Regions from separate parts of the Homo sapiens genome. Here region 1 is linked to region 2. The links are contacts of gene promoters, found by promoter capture Hi-C in human tissues and cell types (Jung and others, 2019). All regions are on one chromosome and are shown on one strand. The core of a region is centred on a gene start or on the middle of the fragment in contact, and the rest is flanking DNA. Distances in the headings are between cores, read along the strand shown. Region 1 has its middle 42 kb from the start of PRL. Region 2 holds the start of PRL (prolactin).

Region 1 (5,609 bases), core at 108-2,607, 41 kb after region 2:
AGGCTGTCTCAAAAAAAAATAAATTTCAAAAAAAGTTTTCATTGAAAAACATATTTCTGGAAAGTCTTTTAGTAGTTTGCTCCAATTTATTGGATTAAAAGATCGGAGAAGAGAATACAGATAGTTTTTTAGAAAAATCTGCTATTTGTATGTATTTAGAAAATATATTTTATGAAAATAATATTCTTGAACAATACACTTATAATGGTTACTTGTTGAGGGGTTATTCTTGGACAATAAACTTATACAATGACAGAATATCATCTATTCCTTTTTCTTTATTGCAGTAAAATTTCTTCCTAGAGAAAGAAAAAGGATAAGTTAAAAAAGAAAACACACGCACAACACCACCTAAGATGTTATTTACAGTAAATACCAATGTCGTTGTTTCTCTTTTTCTCTTTTTTAGAGATAGTGTCTCACTCTGTTGCCCAAGCTGGAGTGCAGTAGTGTGATCATAGCTCACTGTAACCTCAGATTCTTGGCCTCAAATGATCCTTCCATCTTAGCCGCCAGAGTAGGTTGGACTACAGACATGCACCATGATACTCAGCTAATTTTTAATTTTTTTTATAGAGACGGAGTTCTCACTACGTTTTCCATGCTGAGTGTGAGCTCTTGGCCTCAAGTGATCCTCCCACTTCTGCCTCCTAAAGTGCTGGGATAACAGGTGAGAACCACTGTGCTTGGCATGTTGTTTCTTTCTAAAATTCAGTGTAGATGTCTAAAAGGCAAGAGACAATAATGTACATTTAAAATCAATATTTTCAGTTATAAAATTGGAGGATTAAAAATCCCCTTACAATTTTGAAATAGTGCACTTGAATTTTTCATTATTTTATAACCTTCCCTTTTAACCCGTTTCTCTATCTGAAAATGCTTCTTTATTTGGTAGGTCTGTTTGGTTGTAAAATATAATTCTAGGGTTTTAAACATATGTCCTTATTTTCTGGAAGCAAAGTCCAAGAAATGCCTGCATAACTGAGCAGTTTTAGAAGTATAGGAATGGCATGTCAAAAACATGGAGATGGGTGAGTAAGCTTTGTCCAGAGAGCCGCTGAAAGTTCAAAGTTCCTTTTAGCCCATTTTGCCTGGAGCATGGGGTATGTGGTTGGGGTGTATAAAATAATTTAGGGTTAGATTGAGAAGGGACTGATGTGACATGTTGATGACTTTGAGTTATTTTCTTAAAGAATGGTAAACTTTTAAGGAGGTTGGAAGTGAGGAAAATTTTTAGGAGGAATATGAAAGCAACGTTTTTTTCCCCTAGAAAAGCACAGACTAACATAGTTACAGACTATGAGTTTTTCTGTTAAAAACCGGACATCTCAACTATCATTGCCTTAGGTGTAACTACTGTTTCTGCTAAAATAAAAAAGAAGAAAACTGTGTATAGTTCCTCTTGCATGTCAATTATTCATTTTAAAGGTGATGTATAGTTTTTCTTGCATGTCAGTTATTCATTTTAAAGGTGAAGCAGCTGCTTTAAGTGTACATTTATAAGAGTGTTTCACTGAAGCAGGATTTTGTCTGCTTGGATAATCTTCCTTCTTTCAGAGATCTTCATTGCTTTTCCTTTATGAGAGCTCAAAAGAGTATTGGGTATTGAGAAGATTGAGAAAAGACAGGTTTAAAACAAGCTCTGACGTAGTCTGAAAGTGTAATGCAACCTAAAGAAAGGCAAACCAAGGGAGAGAAGACAGGGGGCTCTTGCGAAGTCCAGGCATGGCAGCTCATGATGTGGATAGATACAAAAGATGTGTTGGTAGAATTGCCAGATTTGGATGATTGTAAGGGAAAGGAAGAAAAAAAATTAGTAGAGTTTGTGATTTGGGCAATGAACTATATGGTGAGACAGGAACACTAGACAGGTCAGAGAGAGGCGAGGTAGAGTGCTTTGCAAGTTCTCGCGTGTCTGTTTCCAGACTAAAGAGTTTGAAGCATTTTCAAGAGAGAAAGATCTCCATACTTATCAAAATTACAGGTTCATCAAGAGCTATGATTCCTGCTTCCTGTTAAAGCTGCCTAATGTGATTTTTAGCGTAGCTGCAAACAGATGAGCTTCCCCTTTGATTTGGGCAGGGTAAAACAACCCAGGAGAATACTTGTGTTTTTTGTATGTCTTTATTTATTGGTACTATTGCTTTGGTAGCTCAATACCATTAAGTTAATATATGTAGTGTTATTTAAGAGGAGATGTATTACCCAAAAGATAAATTCAAATCTGTATAACAACAGACTGATATATTGTATCTTTTAGTAAAGGAAGTAATTGTGTGTCTAATTCTGCCTTTGCTATACAGGAAAATAGCTTTTCCTTGCCATAAGAAATATTTGTTTGAAGAAGGCTGAAGACATATATTTATGTATATAGTTGGTTGTTTGAGTGATACAAAAAATGAAGTTAGTAAATATCTGTTACGTCTTCTACCAGAAATTTGACATTCATCGTAAATTGGGCAATGCTATTTTACATTATTACTGAAATGAAATGAAACATGTAAAATGAATGAGTTATATTTTATAAGGTAGGACTACTTTGTGGGTGATGTATTTGTAATGGTATTTTATTATATGTTTCCTGATGTGAGGGAAATATACATTGTGACATGTTCTGAGGTGATTTAGATTTCTACGGGACAAATGAACTGGGCTTTTTGACTGAGATGAATACATCAAATTGTTTGGTTTAACATTTGATGTTGCTTTACATGTAGACTTCATAATAGAGTTTCGAATATATAAAAGGGTATTCATTCAAGAAACTACAGTTAGAAAATCATTTTAAATATTTAATGATTTAATTCAGTTTTATTAGTGTGACACTCTTTGCATTGCCAATTAAAAATTGACAAGGGTCTCATCTGTTTTTTCCCTTTTTGGACAGTATTATTTTAGATTTGTTTGTTCTTATTTTTATAAACAGTGATAAATACTAATTTCTTAAATTGTTTTTCCACATCCAATGAAATTACCGAGAAGAAAAGCAGTAAGAAATTTGAAGCATTGAAAACAACAGGGCCGGGCGCGGTGGCTCATGCCTGTAATCCCAGCACTTTGGGAGGCCCAGGTGGGTGGATCACGAGGTCAGGAGATCGAGACCATCCTGGCTAACGCGGTGAAACCCCGTCTCTACTAAAAATACAAAAAATTAGCCGCGCGTAGTGGCGGGCACGTGTAGTCCCAGCTACCTGGGAGGCTGAGGCAGGAGAATGGCGTGAACCTGGGAGGCAGAGCTTGCAGTGAGCAGAGATGGCGTCACTGCACTCCAGCCTGGGCAACTGAGCAAGACTCCATCTCAAAAACAACAACAACAACAACAACAACAACAACAACAACAACAACAACAACAACAGGATTTGCCTATTATGTTACTCTGTTGATTCAGATTCTGTTACTGTTACTTTATGATCATGTCTCTAGAGAAATCTGATTTGCTTTACTCTATGGTACCAGGCTTTGCCAGAATACTGAAACTGTTTCAAGTCCTAGGACTCAGGCTAGGACACAATGACGCTCTCAATTGCACTGAACCTTGGGGCAAAGAAGAGAGTGAGGCAAGATAGTGGTCAAGCCAACAGTGAGGAAGAATGAAGAGCGAATTGCATGAACACCACCACTCCCCGCAGTGTGTTCACTGTGAGGAGTTTGTGAGAAGGGAAGGAACCTCAGGTTTATACTTCAGGATTATATAGGTATTCCTAGGGTACTGGTTATAGAAATACCATAGAAATCAGAGAGAGACTTTGGCCATATGGGTCACTGTGGTGATTCATATTCACATTCTACCTATATTTATTGATATAAGAATCTATGCCCATGTAGCTCTGGACAATTTGATGGCTTGAGAAATTTTACTGACAAGATGAGGGAAGAGGAAGAGAGTATATAGATTGTAATATTTACCCAATGGGCAGCAGTTGGCCCCGGGTAGCAAAAGATATAGTTCTCTAGAGTCTCCTAGCTTATTCAACCTGCCCACAGGCTGCATGCGGCCAAGGATGGCTTTGAATGTGGCTCAACACAAATTCATAAACTTTGTTAAAACATTATATAAGATTTATTTGTGAGTATTACTTTTTAGCTAATTAGTTATTGTTAGTGCTAGTGTATGTTATGTGTGGCCCAAGACAATTCTTCTTCCAGTGTGGCCCAGGGAAGCCAAAAGATTGGACACCCCTGCTCTAGACTCTCCTGATGAACCCCCTGCCCTATGCCCGCTGGTAATCAACCACAAAAGTTACCTTTAAATATGCTTCTGAAGAAAACATAATATATGTTTTAGAGATAATAGATGTAGATCATTGTTAGCCATCTTCTTTAATTTTGGAAAAACAAATTTAATTCACCAAAATTCACCCCTACTTCTGTGAAACTGTTCAAGACTTAGCACCACAGGCTACAGGAAAGTAGGAAGTTATGCTGAAAAATGCCTTGGATTTTCTCTATACTGTTGAAAGTTGGAAAGTTATTACCAAAGGTGAGAACTGAGCTTCTCATTATGGTAGTCACATGCAGATATTTAAATTTAAGTATAAATTAATTAAAATTAAATAAATAAAAATTTAATTCTTTCCATAGTCCTGTGTGGTTCATGGCTGCCATGTTGGATTGTCAGAAATGTTTCCATCACCGCAGAAAGTTCTATTGGGCAGGATTGGATTTGAAATTATGTGATCATGTTGCCTAGAAAACAGCATTCTTACATAGGGTACTATGAGGCACAGTGACAAGCAAAAGCCAACATTTCAGTTCTGATGAGCATTGCTCATTCATTAACCTTCTAATGTAGATGTTTCCTGTTCTCAGGTAGCTTTTCTCCTTGTGGTGAAGGTCCAGACTCCTTCCATCCTGTGATTCTGCTATGTCCTAACTCCCTGGAGTTCTGCTACCAGCTGCTGGAAGGGAAAAGAAAGGGCACTGGCTTCTTAACTATCTTGGCCTGAAAGTGATAAAATCATTTCCTTGTAATCTATTGGTGACAACAAGTTTTACAGCCCATCCAGATGTGAGGCTTTCCGGTAGCAACTCTATCTTATGATAGAAGTCGTTGAGAAACCACCACAGACAGTTTCTCGGTAGTTGAGAAACCGTGCAAAATAAATGTGAAATTTTTATGGAAAAGTAACTAATGGTCGAGGGATCGTTTTGTAAATTGTTAAACTAATTACATTCTTTCATCTTCAGTATATATGTGTTTTCTACCTTTTTAAATGAATTGGTTTTCACACTGTAATTTGATAATCTCTAAGAACCAATGAATATTATTTTCATTTTCTTAGTCATGGAAACTCTGTTTTACAAACTAAGAACAGCTCAGTAAGACAACCTCATTTTTACTCATTCTTATAAAAAGTTATAGATTCATGGGAAATTTAAATGAAATTGATTATATATATTTATATGTATAATCTTATATATAAAAACCTACATATAAATTTATGTAGAGTTTTTTATTTTATAGAAGCAATAGTGATACTCTTTGTTTCTAGAATTTTCCTTTGAACATTTAAATATTATATAATAGAGAAGAATAGAGTTTATATAAAATTACGATTTCATGTATTATATGGAGTAAAGTACACTTGCAAAGGAGCATCCCTTATTGT
Region 2 (5,356 bases), core at 1,197-3,696:
TAAATAAGAACGCGAGCCACTCTGAGATGATTTATTCCACGGAGGTTTTCAGAAGTAATCCTGCCGAGGAAAGCCTTATTGCTCCCCACTGCCCTCAGCTGCCTGATTTGCTACTGTAATGGCTGGGATGGGGGAAGAACAAACGCCTTCCACTGTGTAAATGTAGATATATAATTATGTTTGCACAGATATATAGTTTGAGAAGTGGGTTACCTCCTGCATTTTTGTACGTTTCCCAGAAGTGCTTCTGTACTTTCCAAACATTTGGAGCTTAAATTAATTCTGAGCTAGGGTGTTTGGATCATTCTCTTAAGATAGTTTAATGTCTTGGGAGTTTCTGCAGATTTTCAGCAGTCAGGCTGCCCAGCACTTTGTAATTTTTTTTTTAACTAGGTGTGTCTGATAATTTACATTGTAGACACTGATATAACAAAAACAGTACAGTCGATCCTTTCGATTTATCATCCTGCCTGATAAGAATAAACACACGATTGTTTGATTGCTAATACTGAGTTTGAAAAGAATTCTAACATAAAAATAATGCTGTAGTTTAGATCTGCTAACTCGTAATAGTCCCATGCATGTGTTTGACACTTCGCCAAAAACATTAAATTTTTTTTATATTTGAGCTTCATAATAACCTTGTGAGATACACTGGGCCTTTGTAATTATCATCAAATTATACTGATGAAACAGATGGCTTAGGGAGGTTAAGTGATTTTCCCCAAGTCGTATCATTAGTGGGTGAGAGAGGCATGATGCCAATACTGTGGTCTTTGCACGTCGTCTTGTCACATCGCGTACACCTGTGGGCTGTCAATCTGCATCTGTGTAATGGGGGCCGCATGAGTAGCCGTGATGGCTCAGTGTTTACATAGGTTGTTGCTGTCACTTTTAAAGAATAACAAGTTCTTTGCCTTTGATTGATTACATCACAACAGAGGCCCCAGAAAGCTTGATTTTCTCCACTTTTCCTGCTCTAATTACAAAACACTCTGATCTTTGCTGAAGGTTTTCAAAGCTTTGTCATCAATTTGCTATCTCAGCAAATGGACAGTTACAGTCCTATATATATCAATAATTTATACTTTCAAAAGGAAAGAAACGATAGATAGCTACCAAATTAAAATCACTTGTTAACTTCAGTGGCATTACCCCAAAAGAATGCCCAATATAAAACTGTGTTTATCACAAAACTTAAGTCCTTCAAAACCTTTAAGAAATGCAATCAGAAATGCCCAAGATAAAACTAGGCAAATGCTAAAGTTTAGTTTGTGAAAAAGTACCTAAACCTAAACACTTAAAAATACCTAAAAAATTGCTTAGTGTAGGAAGTGACTAAATCTGTTAGTTGTAAAATAAAATTTTTGTTTGAGATGATTCCTATTATAGACTTTTAATTTTTCAAAAACATGATTCTTCCAAAAAGTTTATTTTATGCATACTATAATCATATGACGAAACCAAATGTATATTTTATCTGTATGTGTAAATAAAATGTGCTTTGTAGATAGAGGAATTGGAATAGCAGGTCTAGGAAATTCACAACTGGATAGATGTTCTGTAACTCTGAGTACATTTATCTGCACATTTAGCATGGAAAGGATTTTTAAAGCCCAAAACGAGATAAAATAGACACATGTTTTTGTTCTTCATTTAATTAGAAACACATTTTATGGTTGTTACTAATTTATTTTCCTTGCAAATGTCAACCAAGAAAGTAAAGGTGATTAGTTATTACTAGGCAGTCTGTTTTTCCTTTTGAAATGTCATTTGGCTTGAACCAAATTGACAAAGAATAGGAAAGACAATTCTGTTGTTAGTGTCTATTTTATGGCTTCACAATTGAAAGTTTCATCAGGTTGATTCAAGTTGGCCAATCCACATTAGAGGCCTGATAACCAGAAAATGTTACTTTGTCCCTTTGAGAGTTGTGGCAAATTGGACCCACAGACTCTTTGAGTCTTATTCTAGTCCAGAGTTTCTCAATCTTGATATTATTGGCATTTTGAGTTGAATAATTCCTTGTTCTGGGGGCTGTCCCGTGCATTGAAGGATGTTCAGTAGCATCTCTCATCACTATCCATTAGATACCAATAGCACTTTTCCCTCACTTCCCCACCTCAGTTAAGACAACCCAAAACATCTCCCGACATTGCCAAATGCCTCTGAGAGAGGATTCCCCTGTTTGAGAACCATTGTTCTGTTCTATGGTGCCCTTGTAAAATTGCTTTCTAGAGGAAACATAAGATTGTGCTTCTAAACCTTGTAAACCTGCAAGCTCTTGTTATTAGTTAAAATTTCACATTAATCCCCCCACAGGAGTGTTGATACAACCAACAACGCAGTGAGTTGTCACACATACCTTTCCATGGCGATCCTTTGATGTTCATGTTCGTGATCGTTGCAGGAAACACACTTCACCAGAGAAGATCTGGAAGTCTCACGGTTTTCTCTTTCCCAGATATTGGCTTTATAAACCTTTGATATCTTCATGAATATAATGAATCAGGCATTCGTTTCCCTTTTCCTGGTCATCTATTTCCGTCATTGAGATTACCCCCATAATTTCAAACATCAAATGGTATTTTATTTCTTATTCATATTCAGGAAGACATACTGGCCAGAAATGAACATTCTAGGAAGGATTTTGATTAATTAGGCCAAAAGGAAATGAGAGAAATGATGAAGGTGAGATCTGAGACTAGATTGGTTTGGAGGATCTATAAAACTACAGAAGTCATTTACTTTAAAATTTATCTTATTTCTCTAAAGTTTGTTGAATATATAGGATTATATTTCACTTAGGTAACAATCTCATGTATTATCAGTTATCAAGTTTCTTCCTCAAGATTGCTAGGTAAAGATTTTAAAATTTTTACACTAAATACCAAGAGATATAGAATAAGGATTGAGAAATCAGGATTTTCAGTCCCCTGTTACACTGTCATTAAATTTCCTTCATTTTGTTGCTTTTTACATTTTGTTTTATCTTTTTGAAATACACATTTTGTTTTGTCTTTTTAAAAATACATGTGTTTTGTCTTTTTAAAAATAGCGTATCTGTATGGTACTTTGAATGTACATCTTCATCTGTTTATTTCTTTTGATTTTAACATATGTGTTAAGTGGTATTATTCTCTCCAGTTTACAGATGAAGAAACAGAAGCTTGGAGAGACTAAAGGTAAAGAATATGAAAGAAGTAGTTCAGTGCAAAAGTAATTGAGGTTTTGGGCTTTACTTTTAAATGGTAAAAACTGCAGTCACTTGCGCACCAGCCTAATAATTCTATAGTTGAGTTAAATGAAGGAACAATTATTACTTCACGGAAAATCAGGAGTCATATGAGGAAGGCTGGGAAATGAATTCTCTTGTAAACATCCTGTGGACCCACTTCTAAGACAAACAAGCTATAACCCCTGATTTAAGAGTTTATTTTGGGGAAGTGATGCAGTAGTTTTCCAGGGCAAACACACATGTGTGTGCACACACACAGACACACTTACACCCATCATTCTGGTATACCATGTAATAAACTGAAATTCTAGCCAGTAATTTCCACTCTTTTCAAGGATAGCAGTGTGTAAACTGTTATTAACTTATGATCTCTCTACCTTCTCTGACCCTGAGCCACTCTGAGGCCAAGGTGACAAAAATTCATCTTTCATGGGCTTAAAAATTCCATTCACCTTTTGGAAATTTCCTAAATGAAATGACTATAATGAATAAGAACTAAGTTTTATTGATGACTTTCTCTAATTTTTAAGTCCATGCATCTAAAGCAGCCTGTGACCTTTAGTTTCAAATTTGCTGTCTCTTACAATAGACTGATGAATGAGGTAATTTAAAAAATAGTCTTCCTATGGCATTTACTTTTTCCTTAGTTCCTAGAGCCACATATGTGCTTTAGCAATTATCTGACTAAGTGCTCTTATGGGGACCTAGAAATCTTAACAAAGACTAACGTCTCTGAAAAACTATCTTCCTAATTGCCTTAGTTTAAGGCAATCCTACATTTTGAATCATAAACATCAAATGTGATGATTCATAGACTCTCTCAATCTGAAAGCTGGGTCAGGATTCCATATACTCACATTAGGTATTCATTTTTTCCCTGGATGGAGAGAGTCTGAATTATTAAGAAAGCAGAGCTGTGTGGCAGAGAAATTAACATTATCCTATATTCTCCTCCTCTCCCATAAACTTAAGAGTAAGAAAATCTGTTATAAGAACTGACAATGACAACTTAATCTTAAAATTTAAAGGTGTTGCAACATTCTTGGATAGCCAGGATAAGAGCAATCTAAGAAAACCTAAGCTGTGTTTATTCAGGGTCTGTCAGTCGATTTATTTGACTGCAAAGAGGTACAGGTTTCTCTGTAAAATTTATTGTGTGTCTCCTTGCTGCTCCATAGCCCCACATTTCCTGTGAATGGAATATTGAAATATATAAATAATGCAAAGACATATATTATGCAAAAATCATAGTTGTCCTAATTCTTCTAACTGCTATGCATGTTACCCCCTTTCACCTTAATTTTTATATGTGCTTTCTTGCCAGGCTTTCTCTTTATCAAACTGTGCCCTTAATTTAAAACAATAAAGAAGTTCAGTAAGAATAGGGTTGTACATTTTAAAACTTTACAAAACTTCATTTGTTTGCCATTTTTGGTCTGAGAGCTTGTGATGCAACTGAGGGGTGATGATTGATTTATGTCAAGTAGCTGAATAAATAGCTCAAATGATGCTAAAGTTCCCATGCTATGTTTAGTACCTGAAACTAATAAACAAGGTTGCCATCTTTTCTAAAGAACGCTAGTTTTTAACATTAAGTAACATCAGGTTGGTTTTTATTCCTAATTTAGAACAAAGTTTGTATTTTCTTTTGTTTATCTGTTTTTAAGTTTGGAATAATTTTGTTTTTTCTTCTGTCACGTATGAAGCAAAGTATATTTAAAATCCTTCACAGGGCGGGCGCAGTGGCTCACGCCTGTAATCCCAGCACTTTGGGAGGCTGAGGCAGGAGGATCAAGAGATCAGGAGTTCGACACCAGTCTGATCAATATGGTGAAACCCTGTATCTACTAAAAATACAAAAATTAGCTAGGCGTGGTGGCAGGCGCCTGTAGTCCCAGCTACTCAGGAGGCTGAGGCAGGAGAATCGCTTGAACCCAGGAGGCAGAGGTTGCAGTGAGCCAAGTTCACGCCACTGCACTCCAGCCTGGGTGACAGAGGGAGACTCCATCTCAAAAAAACAAAAAAAAATTTCTTCACATAACCTAGGAGGTGTCTACTGCAAAATATGCTAAGGGATATTAAAGAGTGAAAGAAATTAAGAGTTAAAAAAATCCTCAG

The links. The method cuts DNA at HindIII sites, captures the fragments that hold promoters and counts their contacts. A contact is called where the count stands out against the background at its distance.
Region 1: a fragment that was not itself captured here is called in contact with the fragment with the promoter of PRL in region 2 in 1 of the 25 tissues and cell types used here (hippocampus).

Annotation. Positions count from the first base shown.
Region 1 is chr6:22,336,273-22,341,881 of GRCh38, forward strand. No RefSeq gene overlaps it. Among named protein-coding and RNA genes, the nearest start is that of PRL, 42 kb to the left of the region's middle. The HindIII fragment of the contact is 5,085 bases long and covers 1-3,900 here.
Region 2 is chr6:22,294,590-22,299,945 of GRCh38, forward strand. It overlaps PRL (prolactin), which reads right to left and starts at 2,447. Exons shown (of 5, transcript NM_000948.6): 1 at 2,366-2,447. The coding sequence starts at 2,393. The HindIII fragment of the contact is 8,347 bases long and covers 1-5,201 here.